Linked DNA regions of Homo sapiens: region 2 is linked to region 1. Evidence: promoter capture Hi-C in 16 types of primary human blood cells and fetal thymus (Javierre and others, 2016). All regions are on one chromosome and are shown on one strand. The core of a region is centred on a gene start or on the middle of the fragment in contact, and the rest is flanking DNA. Distances in the headings are between cores, read along the strand shown.

Region 1 (4,727 bases), core at 1,206-3,705:
CCTGAGGGCCCCACATCTTCCTCGGTGCACAGTCCCCCAGCACCCACCTCCCCAGAACCCCCACCTGCACCTGCACTGCCTGGCCTTCCTTCCTTAGCAAGACAGAATTCCTGACAGCCCCAGGGGTTAGGAACAGCTGCATGTGAAGCCCACAGCGGCCTTTCTGAAGCTTTACCCAAGTTCTGCTCCCTGGAGCCACATGGAAGGAAGTTCTGCCTGACAGCCTTTCCAGCACCCTGGGAAGCTGCCGATTTATTTTCTTTACCCCTGACTTCACTTATCTAGGATCCCAACAGAGACTGACAAAGCCAGAGACCCTGATGGTTTAGGATTCCAAGGTTTCTTATGCCTCTAGCTGCTCAGCCAGGAGCTTTCTTGATTTTGTGTTTTTCAAATGAGAAGCATCTTACCAGCTAAGTAAGTCTAAGAGTGTCATGACTCATGGACCTTGGAAACCAATGGTCAGTAGTTTGGGATTCTTTGGGTGGATCAAGAGATTTTCTTGGGGACCTAGGAGCACCTCGATGTGTGGAGGGCCTGAGCAGATGGACTAGTGCCCTCCTCTGGATGGAATTGGAGGTTCCCCTTACGCCCCAATCCCTCCACCCCTGCCCTGGGGCTTTTTTTTTTTTTTCTTTTTTTGCTTGGTGGAATGGGAGAGTACTTTTCAAAGTTACAGTTACATAGAAAAGTTAAAATCACAGCACTATTGCATATCTGAGTGCCAAGAATTACGTTTGTCTTGCTGCAGGTGAGGGAAATGAGGTCACTTCTCAAGAAGTTTGCATTTTCTGAGAAAATGTGGACACAATGGAAAAGCCAAGGCATAAAACCATACACCTGAGAAGGCTGAAGCAAATTGCTCCAGGACTTACAGCACAGTGGGTACGTGTTCCGCAGGTGAGAGGCAGCCTCTGCAGAGGCTGACAAGTCCTTTTTGGATGACACTGTGACTCAGCCCTCATATTCCCCTCTCCAGGGCGATGATCCACCTGGTGCTGTGGCTGCTGAGATTCTAGTCATCCTACTCGCTCTAGGCTGGTGTGATTCTTTTGTTTGTTTGTTTGTTTGAGATAAGTCTCGCTCTGACGCCCAGGCTGGAATGCAATGGTTTGATCTCAGCTCACTGCAGCCTCTGCCTTCCGGGTCCAAGCGATTCTTGTGCCTCAGGCTCCTGAGTACTGGGACTATAGGCGCCCAACAACACAACTGGCTAATTTTTGAATTTTTAGTAGAGACGGGTTTCACCATATTGGCCAGGCTGGTTTCGAACTCCTGACCTCAAGTGATCCGCCCACCTCGGCCTCCCCAAGTCCTGGGACTACAGACCTGAGCCACTGCGCCTGGCCTAGACTGGTGTCATTCTGACATTTCCAGGCCACGAAGCAGTCCCAGACTCAGCAGCCCTGGGCATCTGCCGTAGCCCTGTTGTATGATCTGCTCTGCCACTCATGAGGCATGACTCACCCTCCTACCCTCTCCGAGCCTCAGTTTACTCATTTAAATCTCAAAGCCTCCACAGATAATTGGGAAATGAAAGGAAAATCGTGTAAGTATGAATACCTTCCACAGATAGCGGGATCTCATTAATACTAGTTTTCCCCTTTCCATACCTCCCAGCAAAGAAAAGTTGGTAACTGCAGGCCTCTGAACTAGTGCCCCACATCGGAGATACCGGCCACTTCTTACTGAACATTTGCCTGTGTCTACTATAAGGATATAAGATCATCTCAACCTCCCAAGAAGCCGATATTAGCACCCCCATTTTTGCAGCTAAAGAAACTTAGGTGCAGAAAAATGAAATAGCATATTCAAGGTCACAGAATGACCTGGGGCAGAGCTACAGTCTAGACCCCCATCTGTCTGATATAAACCCCATTCTATGAACCCTCAACATTGCTACTCCCCTTCCAACGCCACTGGAGCAGAAAGCTCCAAAACTGGGTGAAGCACATACAGCTCTATAGCAGGCAACCCCATTCCTGTGTTCCACCTAGTGAAGAACCAGGAGGTTGTGCATGACCAAGGTGGTTCAGGGTGAAGGTCAGGGGCTGGCTGAAAATGGAAGGCATCTCAGGCTGGGTCTTTGACTGTGATTATGTCAGGGTTGGGGCTGAAATATTGTGAGTGGTAACTGAGGTTTCAACCTCTTCCCTAGGAAAGAGTGGGGGTGGGGTGGTGAAGCTGGTTAATTGAGATGGGAGGGTTGGGGTGGGGGCAGGCAGAGCCTTCCAAGGCCTTCAGATCCGGTGCTGTTACCGTAAACAAGTGCAACCCTCAGCTCCCTGGAGGGCCTGGGGAGCAAATGCGTGCATCCCTGCTTCGTTCCCAGCAGCTGTTCACTGGAGGACGCAGCCTGCCATCCCCAGCCGACCTCCTCCACAGCCTTCCCCAGCCCCCAGATCAAGCCTCAGGAAGTGGCGCTGCTGAGAATCTCTCCTCCAGCCCTGCCTCCTGCCGAGAGTGTCTTCAGCGCCAGCATTTCCTGGCCTAATTAAGCTGGGTAATGAGTAGCTAAGAGGAGGGGATAAAAGCCCTAGGCGGCTTAGAGCTGGGACAGTTTATGACAGGGGCGTCTGCAGCTGGTGACATTCCTAGGAAAATTATTTCTCATAACCCTGGGAAGTTGCATGCTGTTTCCTTAGCAGCAGAGTAAGCCTCAAAGGTGAGCATGGGGAACACTGCATCTTAAGGGGGCCTGACTGGAGGGTCCTAAAGGTGACAGGTGGGGGGTGCCATGTGTCTGTAGGACTGATCAGAGCTGCAGAGCAGCTACAGGCCACCCGGGCTAATGCCCTTAGCTTAGTCCGAGGCCGGGGCATCCGTGGTGGCCACGTGACTCCCCAGGGCTTGGGTTTTGTGTTTCTTCTGAATGATAGGACTCTGCACAGCATGCAGTTTCTAAGACCGTATCCTTTCAGGGAAGGAAATCTGAGCTAGAGGCTCTGATCCTGACTCCTCCGCAGCCCACTATTAAGGGTGTGAAAATTGTGTTTTGGAAAATATCAGGTGCCCCAGCAGCCAGGAGTGGGTAGAAGAGCTCTCAGACAGGGGCCCTGGGGGAAAGGGGAAGGTGGGCACCAGGCGCTCTGGACACCAGGGCCCGCCCTTCCAGAGACACTCAGGAGCCCAGCGTTGATTATCCCCACTCCCACTCTGCAGCCACAGCCTCAGCCCCCAAATTCTCCTTCTTTGGCACTCAGTTTTGTTTGTTTGTTTTTTGTGTCAGTTCTGTTTGTTTTTGTTTTCTTCAGTCACCTTGCACTCCTTCCTTAGTTGGCCAGGGAACTTCGTGCTGTATGGGGTGGAGCAGGGCAAGGCCCAGGCTCTGGAGCTCGGCCCATCCCCACGTCTCTGAGTGAACTTGGGAGATCAGGTGACCTCTCAGCCATGGTTTTCCCATTTGTAGAATGAAGGCATTAGTGATGTCTAGTGTCCAGTATGTTATGAACCGCAACCTCCACTTGGCCTGTGAGTGGCGAGCGAGGCTGAAATTGGGCCATGTTTCCCAGACCTTTCAAATTAGGTTACCCAGTTTCACCCAAGAACATTTTTGCCCCAATTATCCTGTAAAGCAGAGTCATAGCTAGTGAGTATGTATTTTATTATTATTATTACTGTTATTATTAGAAACAGGGTCTCATTCTGTCATCCAGGCTGGAATGCCATGGTGTGAACATGGTTCGACCTCCCGGGCCCAAGCAATCCTCCCACCTCAGCCACCCGAATGGCTGGGACCACAGACACGTCACCACACCCAGCTAATTTTTGGTATTTTTTGTAGAGACTGGGTTTCACCATGCTGCCCAGGCTGGTCTCAAACTCTTGGGCCCAAGCGATCCTCCTGCCTTTGCCTCCCAAAGTGCTGGGATTACAAGCGTGAGTCACTTCGCCTGGCTGAATACCTGTTTTTGATGATGGAAGGGCCCATTCTCCTGCACTCTTGTAATCAATATTTGTTCTTTTCCAATTTTCTAAACAAGACCTGTCTGGTGCAATGTCCTCCGAGCCCCGCTTCCTCCACGGCTGGAGCCGGGAGCGGCAGGGAATGTGTGGGCATTCCGTCTTTCCTTCTGATCGCCGCCCTTCACCCTCTGCCCTTGGCTGTTCCCACAGTCCCATCTATTCCCCTGGCCTCCTGCTTGTCTCTCTAAACGAGGAGTGAGTATGCAGATCACAAATAACCTGGTGTTTCCGTTTTTCCCTCTGGCGGTGGTTGCCCCTGGAGTGGAAGGAGACCTGGTGGCCAGATGCCTGACATGGCCGGGACAGCTGGTGCTCTCAGCATTCCTGGGGAAGGTCCCTGGGGATTGGACTTGAGGGGATCACACCAAGAAGAGGGGTGAGCAGGCCTGGCAGCTCACCCCTGTGACCCAGCTCACCTCTGGCTGGGCTGCCTGGCATGATCCCCCGGCCCGGCCGGCAGCAGCTGCGCAGGCCAGGGGAGCCAAATGGCTCTGCATGTGTAATCCTAGCTAAAAAGAGAAAGGGGAAAGATCTTGTAATTTCCCAGGACACAGACAACTGAAACCTGACACTCTTGCCAAGGAAGTCCTTTCACTGAGAGAGAGAGAGAGACAGAGAAGGAGGGAGGGAGGGGAGTGTGTGAGAGCCCACTCTGGAAGGTTCCGGGAGAGACAGAGAGAAGGAGGGAGGGCGGGGAGTGTGTGAGAGGCCATTCTGGAAGGTTCCGGGGCCAGCAGGAAGCCCTGAGCACAGCTCTCCTG
Region 2 (4,727 bases), core at 1,472-3,971, 140 kb after region 1:
TCCAGGACATGACGCAAGTCTCTGAGTCTCTGAAGACCAGCCCTGGCCTCCGAAGCACCTTTGTGTTGGCCATCTGAGCTGCTGGCCAGGACCCAGTCTTGCTGGCTCACATTTGCATGGTGGTTAGCATTTTCCAAAGCATTTTGAAACAGGTGTCATCCGTTCCTACTTTGTTAGAGCCTCACAAAGCCCCTCATGGAGAGAGAATTCTTATCTATGCCATTTTCAGAAATGAAGGCACAAAGTCAGAAACCATTCATTCTTTCTCATTTAATTTCACTTATTTATTTATTATATTTTGAGATGGGGTCCCGCTATGTTGACCCAGCTGGTCTTGAACTCCTGGGCTCAAGCAATTCTCCCGCCTCAGCCTCCTGAAGTGCTGGGATTACAGGTGTGTACCACCACACACCACACACTCTGGCTGGAGTGCAGTGGCGTGATCATGGCTCACTGCAGCCTTGACTTCCTTGGGCTCTAGTGATGCTCCCACCTCACCCTCCCAAATAGCTGGGACTACAGGTGTGCACTACCACACCCAGCTAATGTAATTTTTTTTTTTTTTTTTTTGAGACGGAGTCTCGCTCTATCGCACAGGCTGGAGTGCAGTGGTGCAATCTCGGCTCACTGCAACCTCTGCCTCCCGAGTTCAAGTGATTCTCTCACCTTGGCCTCCCGAGTAGCTGGGATTACAGGCGCCCGCCACCACACCCAGCTAATTTTCTGTATTTTTAATAGAGATGGGGTCTCACAATGTTGGCCAGGCTGGTCTCAAACTCCTGACCTCAGGTGATCCACCTGCCTCAGCCTCCCAAAGTGCTGGGATTACAGGCGTGAGCCACCGTGCCCAGCCTGTAATTTTTTTATTGAAACAGGAACTTGCTATGTTACCCAGGCTGGTCTGGAACTCCTGGGCTCAAGTGATACCCCTGCCTCAGCCTTCCAAAGTGTTGGGATAACAGGTGTGAGCCACAGTGCCCAGCCCCCTATTTATTACTCGTTTGGGTTTCCTAAAGATATCATAAGCTATTTTAGGCTGGGTGCAAAAGAGCAAGTGTCCTGCCACATGACTTATGCAAATCCAGAGAGCAGGGCCAGCCACTCAGCTCTGATTCCAATTTTGTCCCTTAGGGGCTTTGTCTAAACCCTGGAACCAAAACTCATCCAGCTGCTTTCATTTGCTCAATCCCAAATGAATGACAATGTTATCTTTTTGTGTTTTGATGGAGCCGAGTGAATAAAAAAAAAAGACTGAGTGCATCGAATAGGATGTAAGGCCATATTTTTAATGAAATTATTAACATGGGACAAAACTTCATCAGGTTGCACATTGAACAGATAAAATCCCCTTGGGTCTGAGCCATTACCTTGGAATCAGAACATGGGCATTTCCTTGGTGTTCCCCTTGGCGGCAGCCGCCTGCTCTCAGCCTGAGGCAGGTGCAGGGAGCCTGCTGGTAATCGGGACACCCTGCAGAGCTGGGGTTGCTGTAGCAACCAGATGCTGCCTGGAGGGCGGAATTTTAAAATATCTCAGCTATAATAGTTTTTTTCACATTCTGTCACTTCCCCAGTGCTGCATCATACTGCTGAGGTGGGCCATGCGGGGACACAGGGGCCCTTGGGTGGCAGCTTCTGTGGGTGTTGGAAGTGGGAAGATGGTCTCAGGGTGTTAACTGCTGGGCAGCCGACAGCCTCAGCTTTCGCTTCCAGGTTCCTCCAGCTCTTGGTTCCAAAGCCTCGTGTCATTTTCTCTCTTTTTGGGGTGAGAGGGGATGGAGAGAGAGAATAGGAGTCTAGCTTGAAACTCCTTCCCTACCTCCTCCCCCTCTGATTTGAGCTTTCTGGCTCTGCATCCCTAGGCGAGCAGCCTTGGCGTTCCTGGAGCTGTCTCTTTGGAGAGGGGAGGGGTGTTCCTTCTTCCTTTCTTGTCTGCTTCTTCCTTTGGTCTTTCTTTTTTTTTTTTTTCTTGAGACGGAGTCTCGCTCTGTTGCTCAGGCTGGAGTGCAGTGGCACGATCTCGACTCACTGCAAGCTCCGCCCCCCGGGTTCACGCCATTCTCCTGCCTCAGCCTCCCCAGTAGCTGGGACTACAGGCACCCGCCACCACCCCCGGCTAATTTTATTTTTTTAATTTTTAGTAGAGACGGGGTTTCACTGTGTTAGCCAGGATGGTTTCCATCTCCTGACCTCGTGATCCGCCTGCCTCGGGCTCCCAAAGTGCTGGGATTACAGGCGGGAGCCACCGCGCCCGGCCCCTTTGGTCTTTCTAACTTCCTCTTTCGGCTTCATTTATTCACATATAAATGACTGTTGCTCTCCTACCAAATGCAGTGTTAAGAAATGAGGGCCGGGCTCGGTGGCTCACGCCTGTAATCCCAGCACTTTGGGAGGCCGAGGCAGGCGAATCACTTGAGGTTAGGAGTTTGAAACCAGCCTGGCCAACATAGTGAAACCCTATCTCTACTAAAAACAAAACAAAACAAAACAAAAATTAGCCAGGCAGGTGGCACGTGCCTGTAGTCCCAGCCACTCGGGAGGCTGAGGCAGGAGAATCACTTGAAACCGAGAGGCGGAGGTTGCAGTGAGCCGAGATTGCACCATTGCACTCCAGCCTGGATGACAGAGTGAGACTCCATCTCAAAAAAAAAAAAAAAAAAAGAAAGAAAGAAAAGAAACGAGAAATTCCCTTGTTCTAGAGGAATTCATCCTGTCTTGACCCTGGACTTGCCTATCAGATATCAAACATTTTTATGAAGTTACAGTAATTAAGACACTGTACTACTGGCAGAGGGAGAGACACAAACCAATGGCACAAAGGAGAGTACCCAGAAACAGACCTACACATGTATGAAAATGTGGCCTCACAAAATCTTTCTTTCTTACTCATTTCATAGCCTGATATGGGTCAGGTGGCTACTCTTGACCTTTTTGCTTCAAGTGGTGACTCAGGGATCCAGGCACCCTCCAGTTGGTGATGCTGTCATCTTCCACACATGGGTCCAAGGTCTGTGGGAGAGAGTGTGAATGGATAACTGTGAAGGGATTTATGGCCGAACCAGGCTGTGGTGGGTGCCACATGTGTGCATGTTTATTGGCTAGCCACATGGTTCTAATGTGACTGCAAAGAGGATGGGAAATGTGGTCTTTCTCTGTCTAGGAAGAGGAAATGGGATTGAACAGCATCTAGTCTGTCTCTGTTGCCATATTACTATTTACTAGGAATAAAGAAATTCTGGCCAGGCTTGGTGGCTTACACCTATAATCCCAGCACTCTGGGAGGCAGAAGCAGGAGGATCTCTTGAGTCCAGGAGTTTGAGACTAGCCTGGGCAACATGGGGAGACCCTCTCTCTACAAACAAACAAAAAAATAGCTGGGCGTGGTGGCACATGCTTGTAGTCACAGCTACTTGGAAGGCTGAGGCAGGAGGGTTGCTTGAGCCCAGGATTCAAACCTGCAGTGAACTATGATTGTGCCACTGCACTCTGGTCTGGACAACAGAGCAAGACCAATAGAGCAAAAAATTTTGTTTTGCTCAATTTTTGTTGAAATTCATGAATAGATATTAAATGTTTGTTTCTCTGTATTTGTTGAGTTGATCTTAAGTGTTCTTCTCCTTTAATCTGTTAATATGGTAAACCATATTAATATATTTTGTTTTTATCTTTTTTTTTTTTTTTTTTTTTGGAGACAGGGTCTCTCTCTGTCACCCAGGTTGCAGTACAGTTGTGCAGTCCTGGCTCACGGCAGCCTCGACCTCCCGGGCTTAAACAATTCTCCCGCCTCAGCCTCCCAAGTAGCTGGGACTACAGGTATGTGCCACCACACCCCAGCTAATTTTATTGTTTAATTTTTTGTAGAGGTGAGGTCTTGCCATGTTGCCTAGGCGGCTCTCAAACTCCTGGGCTTCAAGCGCTCCTCCCACCTTGGCCTCTAGAATGTTGGGATAACAGGCGTGAGTCACTATGCCCAGCCTGTTGTCATCTTTAACTCTTTCTTTCATCCCTGGGATAAAACCAAGTTGGTTATGTTACATGTTGCTGGCCGCTACTGCTGGTAATTTGTTCAGGAGTTCTTTGTCTATGTTCATAAGTGCAATTGGTCTATGTCTTAGTCCATTCAGGCTATTAGAAGACCATAGACTGGGTGTCCTGTGAAAACAGAAATTTATTTCTCATACTTTTGGAGACTGGACAGTCCAAGATCAAGGCATCAGCAGATTTGGTGTCTGGTGAGGGCCTAATTCCTGCTCCTTGGTTGGCCTGGACCAGAGAGGTGGCCAGCCTTTGAATCTGCTCTGCACTGTGGGTCCTTGCACTCTGGGCTGGTGATGGGAGTGCCAACTCTCATGATCTCTGAATTGCCTTCAGGGTCCTTCTTCCATTATCTTGGAGAACAGCTCCTAGCTTCTGTTGCAATGGCTGATCCATACTACTCTTACTAAAGGAGCTTGGCAACAGAGCAACACCGTTAGTGTTCTCTCCAAACTGGGTTCTCGTTCTTTTCTATATGGATGGGCTGATCATTTTTCAGAATTTCAAGTTCTTATTACTTTTTGCTTAACAGTTCTGTCTTTAAGTCATTTATGTCTCTCTTGAATTTTATTGGAAGCAGTCAGAAGGAGCTAGGTAACTCCTTCAATACTTTGTTTAGAGATTTCCTAAGCCAAACATCCAATTGCAAGTTTCATTGCTTGCAATTGTTACCTCCACAAAATGATAGAACAT

The links. The method cuts DNA at HindIII sites, captures the fragments that hold promoters and counts their contacts. A CHiCAGO score of 5 or more calls a contact.
Region 2: a fragment that was not itself captured here is called in contact with the fragment with the promoter of CECR3 in region 1 in 2 of 17 cell types (erythroblasts and non-activated CD4 T cells); the score reaches 5.7 in erythroblasts.

Annotation. Positions count from the first base shown.
Region 1 is chr22:17,264,461-17,269,187 of GRCh38, reverse strand. CECR3 (cat eye syndrome chromosome region, candidate 3) reads left to right here and starts at 2,455. Exons shown (of 3, transcript NR_038398.2): 1 at 2,455-2,665. RefSeq lists an enhancer at 4,006-4,727. The HindIII fragment of the contact is 21,393 bases long and covers 172-4,727 here.
Region 2 is chr22:17,128,643-17,133,369 of GRCh38, reverse strand. It overlaps LINC01664 (long intergenic non-protein coding RNA 1664), which reads right to left. Exons shown (of 4, transcript NR_103793.1): 3 at 2,886-3,008; 4 at 1,266-1,755. Among named protein-coding and RNA genes, the nearest start is that of LINC01664, 9.4 kb to the right of the region's middle. The HindIII fragment of the contact is 7,377 bases long and covers 1-4,727 here.